2 separate regions of the Homo sapiens genome follow, and region 2 is linked to region 1. The links are contacts of gene promoters, found by promoter capture Hi-C in blood cells and fetal thymus (Javierre and others, 2016). All regions are on one chromosome and are shown on one strand. Each heading gives the region's core, a stretch centred on a gene start or on the middle of the fragment in contact. The rest is flanking DNA. Distances are from core to core; before and after follow the strand shown.

Region 1 (2,544 bases), core at 12-2,511:
AAACCTAAAGAAGGTCTCTATACCCAATTAACAAGTAAGAAGACTGAGGCTTAGCGATGTGATCTGCCCAAGGTTTCAAGACTGGCCCTTCAGTCTGATTTCAGCCCTCCAGATCTCTCTAGTCCCTCAGACTCACAGCTCCCTGGGTCGGGGCGGGGGGCAGGGGTTGGGGGGGCGGTGACCCCCTCCCTCAAACTGGACGGTTCCACTGTCTGTCTGAGCAGTGGAGAAGTGTGGCTGCTGGAGGTGGGGGCTGGCCTCGCAACCCTGAAGGTAGAGGACCAGCAGCCTGGAAGCTTGCAGAGAAATTTTCCTGGCTAAGAGCAGATTTGATTGTGGGGGTTTGGCCAAGATTAGCCCCAGTGAGAGAGCCGCAGGGATTGTGGTTAGACTTCCAACCACAGACATACAATCGCAGGCGGCCAGAGGTGCGACACACAGGCACACCTGTTCATCCCCTCTTGAAATGCCACACCCTATCCTGACCAGCTGCCCAGAAACAATTCTGAGAGTCCGACTTCGCTGGGCTCAGCCAGCATCCACCAGCAGCCCGGGGCCCCCTGATGCCCCCTCAGGCTGGGTAGGCTGACAGGGAGGTGTTCCATAAGCCTGTGCCAGCGTCGCCTGTCAGCGGCAGAGCCTGAGATGCACAGCCTCCTCCTTAGAGGTTCCGAGTGTCGCCCCTCTCCGGATGGGCCAATAAGTGGCTGCTCTGGACAAGTCCCGCGTTCTTTCACTGCGCTACCGAGACTAAGTGCACTGATCAAGCCCCTACCCCGGGGACTGCCCGGGTGGGGAGGCAAAAGAGACCCTGCAAAACCAACACCCGAGGACGCACTTGCGTCTCGGAAGCCCAGCTTGTGGGAGGCAGAGCCCGTCCTGAGGGGCGACGAGGGCAGGGGGACCAGGAGGGGCTCGTCCAGGTTCTAACCAGAGCCTGGATGGCAAGGGGCGGAGTCCTGGCAGTCGGGATGGGCGTAACGCACAGGCTCAAGGCATAAGGCACAGCGCACTCGGGTCACAGGCGGAGGAGCCAGCCAAACCCTCTCCCCGCGCCCGTAGCCGCGTCCCCTCAGCCGCCATCCTCTCAGCACCGGGGCGCACTCACAGGCCGGCACCAGCTCCAGGAAAAGCGCCTTTTGCGTACGGTCCCGAAGCCGCAGCTGCCGCACGATGTGGCGTTTCCAGCGCGCTGCGGGGGCACCGGGGACGCCCGGCCCCGCCATGGCCGCGCTCTCCCGCCTAGCGGCGCGTTCCTCCCGCCCAGGACGGCGCCAGGCCGGGGCGGGGCCTCGCGGGGACTCCGTGACGCCAGGGGGCGGGCGGCGGCGGGGAATCCCCGGCTTGTCCCAAGAGGGCTTTGGCGGGGAGGACCGAAGGCCGACGCCGGGAGGATCTGCCTCCGGGAGGAGCCGCCTCCGGGTCTGAACCGCCGGGGCCCCGTCCGAAATGTTCACCTAAGTGGGGGCTCCTGTGGCTGCGAGGGTCATAAGCAGGAGCGAGGTCGGAGCCTCCGGGGAGGCTTCCCCCACGCGGGTGGAGCGCTCCGGAGGCGGGGCCCTCAAGGCCCGGGTGTCTTAACCCCGCCGCGCCCGGGCCGAGTTCGAGAGCCGCTGGTGCTTCCCAGGCCGTCGCGCTCCTGGCCGCGCACCCAGCCAGGGACCCAGAGGCCCTCAGCCCCGGGCTCTGCGCGTACACTGAGGGCGCGGCGCAGCAGGACAGCAAGATAAGGAAGCAGAGACTGAAGGGAGGAATCCCCGCTTTCCGGGGATGATGGCGTTCGAGTTGGGTCTGTGAGGGATGAAATAGGAGTTGGCCAGAGGGAGAGAGGGACTCTAGGCCTCGAGAAGAGCACGTGCAGAGGTTCCGTGACACGAAAACGCCAGGTGGGTGCGGGGCTGGGAGGACAGGAGGCAGAAGGGTTTACGGCTCCACATGGTCGCCGAAATTTTAGGTCCCTGAGAGTAAAGGGGTGCAGCTGATTTCATCTAGAAAGCCCCTGGCCGGGAGGAGAGAACGAGCTTGCTTGCCTGGGGTTGCAAAGGAGTGGGTAGCTGAGACGGCCAGCACCCCAGCATCCTGACTCAGGGCCAGACGCTTCACCCCATTGGGCGGCGTCTGGAGGAGCAGACACATCTCTTGTGGGTACCCTCGAAAGTGAATCATGGGTCGCAGGGAACTGTGGTCAAACCGTCTCTAGCTAGATGCTAGAGAGCCAGCTCTGCAGGCTCAGGCTACTGTGAGACACGAAAGGAGGGACTCGCTGGGCACAGCCTCACCCTGGGGCATGCCAGCAGGCCCTGCCCTCTGAGTGTTGGCAGACTTGAACATCCCTAGGGAACGAGAGAAGTTGGGCAACGATGGGAGAGCAGTGCAGGCCCTGGAGGTGACGAGTCTGTTGAGATTCTGATGGGGATGGGTCAGAGGACGTAGAAAGCAGTGAAGGCCTAGACGCCCCCAGGTCAGTGTAGCCTGCTCTGCTTCCAGTGAGCTGGGCTCAGTCCCCCACATGTCATTGTCTTAGACGCCCATGGCCTTTGCACA
Region 2 (2,544 bases), core at 12-2,511, 83 kb after region 1:
CCTCCATCCCTGTCCTTGCAGCTCCCGCCTCAGGCCGAGATGAGGAGCCCTTCAGAATAGCTGCTGTCTCTGGGAGGACCCGGGCGTCCTTGGCAGCCCAGCTGGTGAGTCAGGAGGTGGAGCGGTGGGAACAGGGCTGGCTGTGGCACGCTAGGCCTTAACATTGAGGTCGGGGAAGGCTTGATGGAGGCTGACACCTGATAGCCCATTTTCCATTTTGAGAACTGAGCTTGAGAGGCAGAGGGTGAGGCCCAGAGAGCTTGCTACGAGCCTCCCAGCAGGCCTTGGAACCTTGGAACAGGGTGGGGGTACGAGACAGAGGGACAAGGCAGGGGCCAGCAGGCTGAATTGCAGGTCTGTGTTTATGTATCTCCTCACTGGATTCCCCTCCCTGCCTGGCAAGTTTTGTTCCCTTTCTCATTCTCAGGCTCTATTCATGGTTATCACATTCCCTTTTAATTTTTATTTACTTTTTGGAAAATGATACAAAATTTAAAAGATACAGAAGGGTATAGTGTCTCCTGTCTTCCCAGCTGTCAATTCCCCTCCCCAAACTCAGTTTTATATATATCCGTCCAGTTTTCTGTGTTTATATTTGCATATATATATAACATATGTATATTTTTTTCTTTTTCTTTAACCGAGATGTTTACATAACACTGTTCTGCATCTTGCTTTTCCACTTAACACATCTCTAATATCATTTTATATGAACTTTAGAATCTGCTGGTCTCAACAAATTCCAGCTGGTAATTTTAGTTGGGATGGTGTTAAAGTTTTAGCTTAACCCTGGAGGAACTGACATCTTTATATGTTGAAGTGAAAAGTCTCCCTCTCCTCAGAGGTGGATTTCCAGGGAAGCTGGAGTTTGAGGTGCAGGGCTCCTTCCAGGATCTAAAGAGGGTCCTGAACAGTGTGTGCATGTGGTCATGTGTTTTTGTGAATTTTGCAAAAGTGAGATACTCTTAAGGAGAATGTGTTAGTCTGTTTTGTATTGCAATCAAGGAATACCCTGAGTAATTTATAAAGAAAAGAGGTGTATTTGGCTCAGGGCTCTGCAGGCTGTATAAGCATGGCACCAGCATCTGCTCAGCTTCTGGTGAGGCCTCAGGAAGCTTTTAGTCAGGGCAGAAGGCAAAGCGGGAGCAGGCATGTCACATGGTGAGGGAGGAAGCAAGAGAGAAGCCGGGCTCTTTTAACCAGCTAGCTCTTACATGAACAAATAGAGTGATAACTCACTTGTTACCATGGGGAGGGCACCAAGCTATTCATGAGGGATCTGTCCCCGTGACCCCAGACACCTCCCACTAGGTCCACCTCCAACATTGGGGGTCACATTTCAACATGAAATTTGGAGGGGACAAACATCCAAACCATATCAGAGGGCACTTAAATTGTGTAAGCTTCAGGTCCCATGAACTTCAGGCCCTGTGAACTCTGCATCTTCCACTGTTCCCTCCTGTCCCTTCAGGCCTTAGTTTTCGTCCTAGGAGGAAGCTGATAACTGTTGTCACCTTGCCCTCATGTGTCTTTTCAGAGATACTTTGTTCATTTACCAGTAGCTGCACACTACTCCATGCTCCCCCTTGTTTTTTTCACAGAGAGAGAATGTTACACAAACTGTTCTGCACTTTTCTTTACTCCTTTAACAGTGTATCTTATAGATCATCCCATGTCAATATGTGAGGAGTTTCCTCATTCTTATGGCCGCTCAGTATTCTATTGCACAACTACAACATAATTTAGTTAACTATTCTCCCATTGATGGCCATTTTGGTTATTTCCATTCTTTTGCTATTAAACACAGGCACTGTAGCTAGTAACCTTCTATATATGTCAATTCTGGCAGGTGCCAGTAAAAATGCAGGCTAAGTGCCTATGGGTGGCTGGGTCAGCCATCTGCATCTCTGTTTTTGGGGGAGGCGGGAGGACAAAGTGTCCCCCAGGCTGGAATGCAATGGTGTGATCTCGGCTCACTGCAACCTCCACATCCTGGGTTCAAGCGATTCTCCTGCACCTCAGACTCCTGAGTAGCTGGGATTACAGGTGTCTGCCACTGTGCCTGGCTAACTTTTTGTATTTTTAGTAGAGACGGGATTTTACCATGTTGACCAGACTGGTCTCGAATTCCTGACCTCAAGTGTTGGGATTACAGGTGTGAGCCACCGCGCCCAGCCCAGACATCTGCATCTCTTAGGGCTTTCATGCCTAGAGGCATTCCACAGCCAGGGAAGGGATGCCCTACCACATCACCAATGCCTGTATTTTCCAACTTTATTGCTCTTTGACAATCTGATAGGTAGAAAGCAGTATTTCAAAATATTTTACATTCATATTTCCTAGTGTGGGGGAGGTTAAGTTCCTTTTCAGATATTTAAGAGCCATTTATATTTTCCTTTTTGTAAATTTTTTCATTCATACTCTTTGCCCATTTTTCTGTTAGATTATTGATCCGTTTCTTATTTCTGCATGCTTTTCAACTTTTAGGAAAATGAGCCCTTTGTGTGGAATATGAGTGGCAGATATCCCCTAGTTTGTTGTTTA

Evidence for each region. Contacts are between HindIII fragments. The CHiCAGO score rates a contact against its expected background, and 5 or more counts as called.
Region 2: a contact is called between a fragment that was not itself captured here and the fragment with the promoter of ATG16L2 in region 1, in 13 of 17 cell types (megakaryocytes, total CD8 T cells, M1 macrophages and 10 more). The highest score is 9.2, in megakaryocytes.

The regions. Positions count from the first base shown.
Region 1 is chr11:72,813,128-72,815,671 of GRCh38, reverse strand. It overlaps ATG16L2 (autophagy related 16 like 2), which reads right to left and starts at 1,261. Exons shown (of 18, transcript NM_033388.2): 1 at 1,109-1,261. The coding sequence starts at 1,226. It overlaps LOC107984421 (a long non-coding RNA gene), which reads left to right and starts at 1,605. Exons shown (of 3, transcript XR_007062771.1): 1 at 1,605-2,544. RefSeq lists an enhancer at 489-638 and silencers at 1,169-1,618, 2,019-2,108. The HindIII fragment of the contact is 2,352 bases long and covers 299-2,544 here.
Region 2 is chr11:72,730,075-72,732,618 of GRCh38, reverse strand. ARAP1 (ArfGAP with RhoGAP domain, ankyrin repeat and PH domain 1) reads left to right here. Exons shown (of 35, transcript NM_001040118.3): 2 at 22-104. Among named protein-coding and RNA genes, the nearest start is that of ARAP1, 21 kb to the left of the region's middle. The HindIII fragment of the contact is 288 bases long and covers 1,118-1,405 here.